Linked DNA regions of Homo sapiens: region 1 is linked to region 2. The links are contacts of gene promoters, found by promoter capture Hi-C in blood cells and fetal thymus (Javierre and others, 2016). All regions are on one chromosome and are shown on one strand. The core of a region is centred on a gene start or on the middle of the fragment in contact, and the rest is flanking DNA. Distances in the headings are between cores, read along the strand shown. Region 1 overlaps LOC124902130 (a long non-coding RNA gene). Region 2 holds the start of KLHL9 (kelch like family member 9).

What was found. The method cuts DNA at HindIII sites, captures the fragments that hold promoters and counts their contacts. A CHiCAGO score of 5 or more calls a contact.
Region 1: a fragment that was not itself captured here is called in contact with the fragment with the promoter of KLHL9 in region 2 in 1 of 17 cell types (activated CD4 T cells); the score reaches 5.1 in activated CD4 T cells.

What each region holds. Positions count from the first base shown.
Region 1 is chr9:21,982,629-21,989,459 of GRCh38, forward strand. LOC124902130 (a long non-coding RNA gene) reads right to left here. Exons shown (of 2, transcript XR_007061436.1): 2 at 1-6,831. It also overlaps a transcript of CDKN2A not described here. Among named protein-coding and RNA genes, the nearest start is that of CDKN2B-AS1, 8.7 kb to the right of the region's middle. RefSeq lists enhancers at 6,778-6,831, 6,828-6,831. The HindIII fragment of the contact is 2,005 bases long and covers 2,124-4,128 here.
Region 2 is chr9:21,333,705-21,340,551 of GRCh38, forward strand. KLHL9 (kelch like family member 9) reads right to left here and starts at 1,700. Exons shown (of 1, transcript NM_018847.4): 1 at 1-1,700. The coding sequence starts at 1,155. It overlaps LOC107987053 (a long non-coding RNA gene), which reads left to right. Exons shown (of 3, transcript XR_001746634.2): 3 at 2,917-3,597. RefSeq lists enhancers at 1,130-1,179, 1,370-1,679 and a silencer at 1,720-1,889. The HindIII fragment of the contact is 830 bases long and covers 1,161-1,990 here.

The DNA of each region.
Region 1 (6,831 bases), core at 1,876-4,375, 650 kb after region 2:
CACAGATATTGAGAATTGACCTCATCCTGAGGAACAAAATAAGTAATAAACATAATTAGAGGAGATAGGCAGAAAGAAATAGAGATAATAAAAAATTCATTAAAAGTTGCCAAGAAAATAATGGCTATCATTTTTTCAACCCCCAGCTATGTGACAAGCATCAAGCAGTTTTATATGTGTAATTTATAATTCCACAGCTGTCCCATGGGATAGAGAGTATTATTCTTTCTTCATAATGCAGACAAAAAAAAAAGCTCAGAGTGCTTAAGTAATAAGGAAAAGAAAAGTTCAAACTTAAGGTTCTCAGTTCTGTTTGAGAGGTCCTCACTCTCCCTACTACAATATGTTTTCCTAATGATAATTTATCCAGTACATTGTGGACAACTCATCAATGCTTCCTTTTCTTTGAGGACTCTGCTTTAGAGCAAGTTGCAAAACCTGGGCCAAGATTACTGACTCTCCATTTTCAGAAACTACTGTGCTTCTATGATTATTCTTCAGTAGTAATACATAGTGATAGAAATTTGGAACTCAAAGACACGCAAAGTCCCCTGAAAGTCACTTAATTCAGTCCCCTCATTTTTGAATGATTTGCTTTCCTGATTAAAGCTCACATATTTAAAAATAATTAAGGAATTAGCTGCACATAGAAAATGAAAAACTACCCCACACAAAGCAATAATTATTAACATTTTGAAATACTTCTTCCTTTTTCTTTGCTTAATCTTTACATTGTGAATATTATGCAATTTTGAAATGAGCTTTTTCTAACTTATTACAGCATTTTCCAAACTTCTCCAAAAACACTTCATAAATGCTACTTTTAACAGCTGTAACACATCCCACTGGAAAAAGTTATAATTTACTTAATGATGTCCCTGTTGTCAGATATTTAAGGTGTTTCTAATTGCTACTAAAAATAGTATTGCAGTTTTTCAAAGGGTAGAAGGCTCTTGAATATATTGTAAAACTGCTTTTTAAAAAGCCACCATTTTGATTTATAGATAACAAAATGGAGGAGTGGTACATATTGAGGAACTATGTAGCTATGGTTACTCAGCTAATAAATGTTTGCTGTAGCTGTTGAAGTCAGTTCCTCTCTCCATTCTCCATTCTTTCTATGGCCACAGCTACTTAATTGGACTTAATGTGGGTGGCGGGAAATGCCAACCATATCCTTAATCATAATTTTGGAAATGACACATATGCAAGTGGGACAAGCCTAGTCTTTAAACTCAGATAGAACTGACCTCTCATTTACCAGCTCTGTGGGCTTGAATAAGTTATGTAAACTTTCTGAGCCTTTATTTCCTCACCTCACAAAGTGGGGAAAATAAAATTTACCCCATAAGGTTACTGTGAGGAATAAAGAATGTCAGATATATAAAAATCCGGGTGCACGGTAGGCTCTCAATAAATGGTGCTTTTTAATTTTTTGAGAATATATATGACATTTACTATGAAGTTATTCATTTAGGTCATCAAAATAAATGTCCTTTTGAGTAATTTTTCATTAATTCCTGTACATTCTAGCAGGTATCTGTGGTTTCAACAAGCAAATTCTCTTCTAAAAGGTATGATGCTACCTCTGAATTCTAACCCTCTGAAAAAACAGCTTCTTTGTAACAAAGTTTCCCATGTTATGACAGAAGAATTTCCAAAAAAAACCCCTCATTAAATCATGAGAAGTGACACTGGAGAGTGTCACTGTGTTCAGTGTTTCCTCTGCATTCATTGCTACCCACCTCCACTGCTTGGAGTGCATTTCAAGTGGAAGGTACAATGGAGAAACTACAGTTAAAACTGAGGAATTGCAAAATTTACTTTCTCTAAACTACTTTTCCTAACCTCCCTCTTTTTCATTCTTGATAGGACAGATTTTCCCCTCTCAAATATGCTGTCCTTTTTAATTGCTAACACAAGCATATATAATATCTCATTTCTGCTTATGCTGCTGATGTACGCATGTGCTGTTAGAGTTCTGAGATAATGTTGAAAGTCACAGATAAATAATAATGTATTCGGTTTTCACTACTGGGAGTGGAGGTTTAATATTCATGTTTCACTGATAGGTTTAACACTGGTTTAGGATACTCTAATTTCAGGGGCACCATCTACATGGAAGCTTTTCTCATCAAATGGAGAATGGTTGTCCCCCTTTTGCCCCTCTAAAAAACTATCCTTTAAAAGTAGCTTGCTTTCTTGGGACTCTATAGTCTTACTGTTATGTTCAATTTTCTGTGTCCTTTCCTGAACTTAGGAGAGTTCTGAAGCCAATCTCCCCTCTGATATTATTAAAGATTGCAAGAAAATTTTCTTGTGTTAGACCATTCTTCCCCAAATCACATTCTTCACCTGATATGTGATTCAACTCCACTCAAGGGAATCAACTTCTTGATGAAATATAATCAACTTTGATTAAATAAGTAACTGCTTCCTATTCATGTTTTAGCACTTTTCACATACAGATTTAACATTTCCACTCATGTTTTCCTTTGAGTCTCTGGGTTGAGGGTAGAGTTTTATCTTTTGTGTTGTTACGGTTAAGATGATAACTTCCATAATTAATTTTTCAAAAAGGCAATGATAACAGAATATACTGTATGTTTACTCTGTACTGATTTAAAACCCCCAAGTCAATTTAGCCTTAAGAAAGCATACTATTTAGTGTATTTTGTGTTACTCTTTGATATCCTACTTCTAAATAACTTCTTCACATTTGCATAAAAATAACTGAAGGTCACCCTCCAAGGTAGGCATTTTGAATGTCGTAAGGATGACAGTAATGTTTCTGCCTATCATTCCTTTCATCACACAGACACACACACACATAATTTTTTATACTAAAGAATTTTTAGAAAATTGTTTTGGTCAAAACTGTTGATTCAGATATTCAGACTGTGACAACCATTCTGAAGGAATTAAAAATCCAGTTATCTTCAGTGATTCCTTTGGAAATTATTATTCTGGGTTATTAGATAGATAGACTAATAACTTTTTTTCCAGTTTTCTAAAGCTACCTTGATTTCCTGTCTTAGAAAACAGGGGTTCACAAACACTGCTTAATATCTCTTTAATGATTATGAATACTAGAATAGCTTAGAGGTATACCCTAAAGGCCACCATATAGATCTTCTGTACAGATGTGAATTTAAAAGTATGCAAATTTACACTGATTTTACCTAACACCTTGGAACATACCAGGAGTCTGAATACATAAATATATTTTTATTATGATATGTATATTTTTAAAGTGGAGTTTAGAAATTTCTAGCTACACTGAAAAATTATAATGAAGTAGGTATTTACTGTAAAAAACTAATGTGCTTTCTTAAGGGCATAGTTTAATTAGGCACTATAATAACTGACAAACGTACACTGTGTAAAAGTTTACAGTGACTCTTCACACATACTATTTTATCTACCTCTTATTACGGGACTACCATAGGGTCTCAGGTTTACAGATGAGAACATGAAAGCACTGAGAGTTTCTCATACTTCATTCTGGTACCATGACAGCTAATAAGCAAAAGAAATAGAATCTGCTCACAGGTCATGTGAATGCTAAAGAAAGTAATCTTTCAACTGCACGCTTCAAGTGGTTCCTGTGCTGGTGAATAGGTATCCCACTTATTGCTTTTAAATTAAGGTAGGAATAAGTAATTTATATGTACAGTCATATGAGAATTTTTCACTGGTTTTATTTTGGTCAAAAAATAAATTTTTGAAAGATGTTAACCTCCTTTCAACCAATAAATATTTACTGTGACTTATACGGCTGATGCTTGAGTATAGTAGAGGCCCAAAGGGGTTAAGCGACTTTCAAAATAATAGTTAACTAAAAGAGATGGAACTGAAACCATATACATATTTATAGCACTCCATGGGCAACCAAGTTCAACTATATATGAATTACTAGTCAATGACTTTTGGTAGGCCATGCAACCTATCTGAGCCTCAGTCTCCAGATCTACAAAATGAAAAAATGAAACATTGAAAACATAAGGATATTGTGATAATTAAATTAGATAATGGAAGTTGAAGTGTCCTATTATTGTTAAGCTCCTCCTAATTGTTTTTGAAGAAAACAATAACTTTACCATGTGATTTAGGAAGAAAGTTTCAATAAGCTTTTAAAAATTAAATGTTAAATATAATATATTCAACTTCAACTATTCAGCATGTAAATTGCATGGAGTAAAATTCAAAGTGTCCGATGTTGGACATTTAACAATTAGATGTTCAACTGGGGGAGTCATTGTTCTCTAGACAGCTGCTGTTTCTTTAAATTGGGTGAGAGAGTTATACAATTGCTGAGTCAGATGATCTGGCAGCCTGAAAGAGAATGAGAGCAAGAAAATGGTGGCACTCGAGAAAAGAAAGCAAAACAAGCTTTTTCCTAATACATCAGCAAAGTCACTGGTGTAATATTAGACAAATTTTAGCTTAAAAGCAGAAAAATGATCATTTGAAAGGCATGATATTTTAGTTTTTCTTATAATTGTTACTTTTTAGCTTACATTTTTCATCTATATTTCCCCCCCCATCACTGTGCTTTTACAGAGACATAAAGACCCATCATTTTGTCCATAAATGCTTTATTCTGTTATGGCTACATTTTCCTGCAATCTTGCCCTGATCTTAGATAAGCATAAGTTAAACCTGTGAAACACTTGTGCTTTGATTTTTCTTTTTTACATAATTTTAGGTTGTCATGTTTATTACGAGCCTGGTCTGGATCATAAAATGAAAGAAACCCCTTATTACAACACACACACACACACACACACACACACACACACACAGAGAGAGAGAGAGAGAGAGAGAGATCCATTCATCCTGCACGAACAGAAAGAAGTGTATATAGTGTTTTAAAAAGACAACGTATCTTATATAGCTTATGTGGAAATTTTCTGTCTGGTTCTGTAAGCTTTAAAACACAAATATATCTTGTTATATTTTTTTCTCTCAAACTATGTTCTGACTGTAAAAATGTGGTATCTACAAGACATTCTTTTCCAATTCATACAAAGGGTCACATAATAATAAAGGGTCTCCTTCATTTGGTGAAATAACTCCTCCACTGATTACTCAGACTCTCCTCCCTGGGATCCAGTAAACTGACTCTAAACTTAAAATCTTACCTAAAATCCTGGACCTCAATTCAAAGATAAAGAAGCAGAAATAAGGTTTAAAAAGTAAAATTGGTCATATTTGTCAAATTGTGTCCCAATGGGCCACTTGTATTAGTATCTCCTTCAAGTGTTTATTTAAAATGCAGATTTCTGGGACCCACAGCAAATCTGAATCAAATTTTCTGAACGTGAACCCCAGAAATATGTATTTTTAAAGGCAGCCCAGGTAATAATGCTGTTGTTAACCTTTGCCATACTTTTAAAATTTCTAGTTACTCACATAATTCAATTAAGAAAGCAGAGGCTTTTTTATTTACGTTACCTTGATTGTACGATTTTATTAGTTTCAATTTGCTTAAGAGATTACATGTCTTTGTTCATGTAATTCTGAACCTCTATAAAACTTTTCTCTCTTAAAAAAATCCTACTGCCTTCACAACCATTTAAATAATTTATGATATTTTATTTTGAAGGTGAAAGAGAAAACTGAGAAATAGTTGAATTAAAAAATCCTTTGTGATAACATGTTTATATTTTCATGAACAAAGCCAATAAGTCATAAAAATTAAAAATCAACATACTATTTTTTGAAAGGACCTCTGATGCTTTGGGAATTTCAATCCTGTAGTTGATGGCTTTCACTTTTTTTTCCCTTTTATTACTTCTTTTTGATTGTAGAGTTCTGCCCAAATGAAACCATCATTCCAGGGCTCATGAATTAAATGAATGCACTGAGAGACACTGACAAGCACTGAGAATTTCTTCAACCACCCTTTTTAAAAAACAAATGCTAATTGGACATAAATATGAGAACAATAGACATTGGGGACTACTAGATGGAGGAGAAAGGGAATGAGCGAGGGCTGAAATACTACCTACTGTGGGTACTGTGCTCACTACTTGAGTGACAGATTCAGTCGTACTCGAAACCTCAGCATGGTGCAATATACCTTTGTAATTAACCTGCACATGTGCCCTCTCCTCCTAAATAAAAGTTGAAAAAAAATCTACGAGGCACTATATTTTTAAAAATACCACTATGTACAAGGCACTGTGCTATATCTGGAACTACAAATATTAGTTAAATAGTCCAAGATTCAGTGGGTTCAGAGACTCTAAGTATTTGCCATTCCCTTTAGATGGAAACGTTCTTTGGTCCACCAAGCCCTATCGTTCTGCTCTTTGGAAATTCTCCCTCACTTTCTTCATAATGCCGTCCTTGACTAACTCTCCTCTAGCAATACTATTGGTTTTGTATGTGATTTAAAATCATTCCTGTAATTTCTTCTGTTTATATGGCTTCGTACAAGAGATTCACATTCAACAAATAGAAAAAAAACGCTATTGACATTTGGTAGCTTCGACAATTGTAAACACATGTGGGTTTGCTGAATACACATTAAAATAGCATGAATTAGGATATGGTAAATCTGTTGCGGTCCCAAGTTGGTGGGTTTTTCTAGGAAGAGTCAGACCCTTTAAAAGGACCTTTTATCATCTACCAAACAAATCCTTCATTTATTAATTCCCAAGGTTTTCTCCATCGGTTGGCTTACTGTCATGGAAATTGATCTTGTTTTAATAGCTACTTACTTTTTTTTATTCTAATCAATGATTTCATTTGAAAAGAAAATTTTCAAACATGGGGAAAGCTGCAATATAAGAAGAAAACAATGGAGAGACATCGTCACTGGAA
Region 2 (6,847 bases), core at 450-2,949:
TAATGATGCAACCTGCATCCATTTATTATACCGAGGATCAAATCTGAAAACTGTATCAACAGCAGTTTTTCCTTTTGTATCATAATTACTCTGACCACCAACTACATAAAGAAAGTTTCCAATGACAGCAATACCATGCTGGTAACGGGGAGCATCCATTGGGGCTAAAGATCTCCATTCTTGTGCCCTTTCATCATACATCCGTAATTCTTTACTGACAACCAGCTGCTGCCTCAAAACTCCTCCTAATGTAACCAAGTGAGTGGAGTCAGATCGAATGGCAGTTCTATCTGACTGCATCACTGGCTGCATATATGGCATCATTTGGTAATTGCTAGCTTCCAAAAGCAAATTCACGCAGGTATTGTCTGTTCTCATGAAATCTACTGTCTGCACGTAATTGATGAGATCCTGTGGTGTCATCAGTGGAAATCGAATATTCTTCATTAACTTTGCAGCATAATCCATCCGAGGGTCTTCCAACCTTAGCCAGCGACAGGCTGCCTTAAAGAGTTCAAGTTCGGTACAGTGCTTAAGACTATTACTGGAAAGCACAAATGCAAGTCGTTCAAAAGGGAGTTTTAGAAACTCCCCAGTACTCAATAAAGCAGGAAAGTTCTTCAGGATGAAATTATTAACATATTTATCCACTTCTATAAGATTGTAGGTGTTAGCAATTCGTCCAACCTCAACACAGTTATCCAAAGAGACTCCTGATATAAGAAATACTTTACAGAAATCCAAAACGGGTAATATTTGTAAAAAGCTAGCAGCTTCAAGTGTGTCCTGAAGATTGTCCATATTAAGAGAAAGTTTTGCAGTATAAATAAAATCAATGATTTTCTTCAGACCAACCTTGTTCACCCCATGAAGCTTAATGCACATCAAATCTTGTTCTTTCATTCCACCTGTGAACATGGCTTTGAAATAATCACTAGCAGACGCCATCATAGCTCTGTGAACAGGGAAGATTTCATCTCCATCACCTGGTACCAGGGTCACATCACAAAGCAATCCTTCTATTCTAAGCTGATCAAAGCCTTGCAATACCACCGAACTGTGAGTATTGCTGGTAAAAAAGCGTGTGGTTCCTGCCTTACAAGGCTGCAAATGGGCAGAGACGCCCATTTCGCCGTTACCAAGGGACACTTTCATGTGAAAGCTTTCCTCTTGCACAGAGATGCAAGCCGGATAAAGAAGTTATAACCGGAATGTTTTACAGGTAACGAGGTGTCCAGAAAGAACAGAAAGCTCGTTTCCTTATCAAGGGAAGGCAGTCACTGCGGCACCCCTCGGGCCACGCCAGTCAGTCATCCACTGAAAATCACCCTGTAGCAGGACCACAAAGGGCTGTGGACCTCAAATCTGATTATTAGACAGATGATTCATCACCTGAAGGCGGTTAAATGACCTGGTTCACCTCGTCCGGCCTGCGCTGCCGCTCCTTCAGCAGTTCCGCTTCGGGCAAGGAAGAGGCGCCGCCACGTACTGTGGCTCCACGGCCCGCTCGGCGGCGGGTCCGGACACCTCAGCGAACGGCCCGCTGCGCCCTCCGCTGTACCTAGAGTGTCGCAGCGGCCACCGGCCTGTCTTTGAGCAAGGGCCGGGAACACAGGCCTGGGCCTGGGCTTGGGCCTAGAATACCGGCCTAGCCCCAACACCGAGCCGCTCCTTCCGGAAAAGCCTAGTCCCAGGATACCACGGGGTGGGAGCGGCCTTAGCGGCTACTGCGGCTGCGCGGCCTCCAGACCTCGTCAGTCAGCGGGAGGGTGGGGGTGGGGAAGGGGGAGGAAGTACCCGGGAGGCGGGAGGGCGAGGGTTGGGGAAGCGGAGCTGTGTGGGGTGGGCGCCAGCCCGGCCTCTTAGAGCTGCCTTGTATGTGGGACCAAATAGGACAGAATGTGTGCAAGCAAGTGTGTTATGCTGCACGTTTGATATAAGTTTTTCGCATATCTGAGCTCTTACGTTCCCCAAATGCATAATTTTTCAAAGCTTTACGCTTCCTAGCTTCTGTTTTTTTGAATAACAGTGAAATGCGGCATTTGTATAAATTGAGAGGAAACCTGGATGCTTAATTTTTTTTTTCCTCTACAAAACAATAATTGTTATCCCACATTATGTAGTAGATACTTCAGTTACAATTTTGGTTCATATTTTCAAATTTGTTACAATTTCAAACGCAAAATATTTGTCTTTACTAGATTGTTACTTTATTATGTAAATGATATATTCTAAATTTTTGGCTTGAAATGCCTTTGTTTTCCACAATTTTAAAAATGGCTACATAATTTTCCAATAACTATACATACTATAGTTTCCTTTGCCCATTGGTTTGTTCCTGAATGTGTACCTTCTTATCCTCCATTGTTTTATAGACTCGGTAGTAAACTTATACAATCTGGTAGCAAAATTTTAGCCCTGTTATGGATAATATTTAGTAAAATACTGATCCAAGACAATATTTCCAAAATATTATCACCAACAATGTTTGTGTCTTTCCCTTCTTCTGACTTTTCCCTTTGTGAGTATTTTATTAACTTGCATTTCTTTAATTAGTGGTAAATTTAAATTTTGACATACAAATAAATGTATACTTTGACACAATTTCTTCCATTTTCCAAATTTTGAAGTTTCTGTCTTTTAAATCCTTCTAGTTCTTTATGCATATGCAAAGTAAGAATGTAGTCATGTTTTTCTTACACTCGCCTCGTTTTTATGTAAAAGATAGCATACCATGTACACTGTTCTGCATCTTTTTTTTTCACTTCAAGATCTTCCTGAATTAGTGTAGAGGGCTTATTTATATTTTTAAACAATTCTGTTGTTGCCTTCTGAGTTGTTACATCATAAGTTATTTAACCAGTGCCCTGTTGATGGGCAGTTCATCTGTTTTGAATGTTTTCTATTGTTTCCAAGGGATGGCAGCAAAATTCAGAAGGCTTAGACTACCACTGTCCTCCACAAGGTGCTCCAGCAGATTGTCACCTTATTCAACACAAGAGGTTGGTTGGAATGAAACTGGCCTGGAGAAATTATTCACTGAATTTTTATCAGCATTGGGAAGTCCTGGAGCCCTGCTTGTTGAATGAGTTAGGGGTGGAAGGGCTCTCTCAGGCCATGACAACTCCCTAATGCTGTGAAGAGCTACTTCCAAGGAATCAGTCTCTATCTGGAAAAGAAAGAAGAGAGCCTCTGTACATGGGAAGTTGGAGCAAGAAATCATGAGATCCTTCTTTTTTTCATCAAACTTGCAAGTAAGATTAATAGCTTAGGAACAGACTTGTGTCTTCATGAAATGATTACTATAGACACTCTTCATTATATTCCCATATGTTTAGTTATTTTAAAAGACTATCTTTTCTGCCTGCATAATGAAATGATTGAATCAAATTTGTCACAATACTTGTTGGTAATGTCAAGCAACTGTATGATAAAGCATCCAGTTCTTAGGGGCATTAGCTCACCATGGATGATATTATTAATTTACCCATGTACTTAATTATTGATTCTACTACATTTATTGTATTCAGTATTTTTGCTTGTATGAAATGTTCACTTTTAACACTGTGCTAATTACATTAAAAAGTGTTCACTTTATGTATATTTTGTTTGTTTGTTTTGTTTTGTTTTGTTTTGACGGAGTCTCGCTCTGTCACCCAGGCTGGAGTACAGTGGTGCGATCTCGGCTCACTGCAACCTCCGCCTCCCAGGGTCAAGCAATTCTCCTGCCTTAGCGTCCCGAGTAGCTGGGACTACAGGTGCGCGCCACCATGCCCAGCTAATTTTTTGTATTTTTAGTAGAGATAGAGTTTCACCATGCTGGCCAGTCTGCTCTCAAACTCCTGACCTTGTGATCCGCCTGCCTCAGCCTCCCAAAGTGCTGGGATTACAGGCGTGAGCCACCATGCCTGGCCCCTCACTTTATATTTTGAAAATTATTCTCTTTATTATTTCGAGTTTTACTTTCAGATCATTTTGCATTTGTTTATTTAAAAAAAACAAACACAAGGTCTTGCTCTGTCACTAAGCTGGAGTGCAGTGGCAGGTTCATAGCTCACTACAGCCTCAAACTCCTAGCCTCAACAATCCTCCCACCTCAGCCTCCCACACTGCTGGGATTACTGGCATGAGCCACCATACCTGGCCTTACTCAATAAATCAATGCCAAGGTTGGTTTTGCAACCTCAAGTGAAGTTCAGTTCATTCATTCCATTCACACTGTATGAAACACTTGATATGTGACTTTTCAGGATAGAAAAGTGAATAAAGGAAACACAGCTTCAGCCCTCTTGAAACTTTTTGCTGAGGGAGAAATAAAACTATTAACCAATTAATTAATTTCAACTCTATCATAAACTCAAACCATAGGCAAAAGAAAAGTGGTTTTTGTCATCAGAAACTGGAAGACTTTAAGCCTTGAAAATTGGATACACAGTTCTGGGATTTAGAGTGCATGGCTAGAGATGTTCATTTGGGAGCTGGGCTATACCTTTTTCCTGAAGGCCCAAGGATGGATGAGGTCTGGTAGAAATTGAGTAGTGAATCAGAAGACCAAAACCTGGATCTTGAGGACCTTTACATCTTAATGTAGTGAACAGAGTGAGGAACCTGAAAAGGGCATGTGAATGAAATGATAGGAGGACATCCAGGAGCAAAATAGGAGGACAACCAGGAGAAAATTGTGATAAGAGGGTGTTTAAGGGAAGAAATGTGTTTAAAACATGACGTTTTACATTTAGGAAAAGAAAGGACTGGTTTGCCAGAATTAATTTGGCAAAATCCAGATTGGAATATATTGACTAGAGTAAATAGCAGGAGAGGTTGGAGACACAGTGGATGGAAACTTCTTTTAGAAGTTTATCTGTGAGTGGAAGAAGAGCAAGAAGGTAGTACCTGGAGAAAAATGTGTGTTTGTATTATCGGATATAATTTTGTAACCTTTTTACAAACTTTTATTTAGGATTGATTTCAGGGAATGGATATAATGGCACAAAGCATATAAAATTAATACTTTATTTCATAGGCTATATTGTCTTACTGCTTATTTAATAATCTAAAATTTCAAGAATAATTGTTTAATAGTTTTTGAGTACTAGTGGGCTATAATGCCTTTCCATTTGCTTCACTTGCTGTTCTTAATTCTATTTAGATTTCATTTTATGGCATTAATTGTAGTTTTTATTGTTCTTATGAATTATGCTTTTATACGCCCCTCTTAAAAGTATATATAAACCCTTTATGTAGATGTTAGCTATATTCCCTATGATGCAACTTTCTCGATTTTGTTTACATATAACTGTTATTTTCCTTTACATTTCTCCTATTGCCAGACAATTGAGAACATCTAAAACTTATGGAAAATGCGTTTGAAATCCTACTTCTTTCTTTCAAACAAATGGGCTCTCTTTATTAATGTGGATAAATAAAATCCAAATACTCTTCAGAGAGAGTGTAGATGACTGCTCAGAGAGCTCATTTATCACATTCTTCGTACACCAGGGATGCTAATTGTGCAAAAATACTGAAACCTAAGTAAGGCTGGACAAGGATGGCCATCGTAGTAAAGGCCATCTCTGACCAGATGGGGATGCTTCTAGGGAAGTGTATTTAGCTGCCATGCAGAGAATGTCTGCAAACCACCACGTTGTGAGTTTATTGATTCACTGGTTTCCTATTCTCTACTGCCTAGTCATGAAACCCACTCATACTTTGGTAACATTTTATAAATTTCTCTCTTAGCAGAGATGATATGAGGAGTGATCTGCGGATCAGTATTGATAAGAGATGTCTTGAAGACATCCATTTAGTGAATGGTGAGGGGCAGAGATAGGATTCATAGCTGGTTCTACCTGTATGTACAGTGTTCTTTTCTCTGTGTTTAATGTATCTAAGTTAGACTTTGTTGTTTGTCATGAATGCAGAATTGACAAGAGCACTCAATACTAAGAAGGCATTAAAAGAAAACATTGTTTTTGATTTCTTTCATCAGTGTTAAGAAAGAACAGGGAAAGAAAAAATCTATTATTATGTGCCATCTATAAAATAAATAATATGTTACATGTTTTAATCCACCAGTTACAGTGTAAATAGTAATACTATCAAGCTTACTTTATCAATGAAGAAAGCAGGACGCTGAGAGAAAAGGTGATCCACGTAGAGTGCACAAGTGATTGGCAGAGTTAGGATTTGAGTCTAGGTGTGCTGATGGAAAACTTCATGCACTCAGTGGATATCATGTTTCCCCAAGGTTGGGGGCTATCAGGATCGGGTAGGTTCTTCTTTCTTTCTCTTCTTCACAAGTTACCCTGTTGGAGACCCAAACTCACAGCGTCTGCCCTACTCACTGTGCTTCACTCATTTCCTCAATTATTGTCTTACCTGCCTGTGGCATCTGTCTGGGTCACAGACAGACCTCCTATCACCTGCATAAGTGCAGTGAAGAACTCAGGTACCCCAAGGATTCTGAGGGGTTGAGTAACACATAAATCTTCAGTAAAGAGACGGGCCTGAATAGGACTTCTTACAAGTTTAGCACCAACCATGTCCAGAGTGCCTAGCTGGCCTCACTGGAGAAAAGGATTACTCATGAAATCCTCTTGGTCTATTTTCTCCTGTCCTTTGTGAAATGGTGAAGAAAATAATAGACCCCAAACTGTTCTCAGCTCACATATTCTCCTTTTTAGCTGTGGCCTTTGGGCAAGTCTTTTTCCCTCAGAGATAGATGCCTGCTCACAGGGTCTGAGCCGTAAGTAGGAGGAAGTCAAAAGGTATGTGCAGAACAATCTACAAAGTGCTATGTGGTGGTTAGTGGTTATTTCTCTAAACACATCTAATTGTATTGATTCAG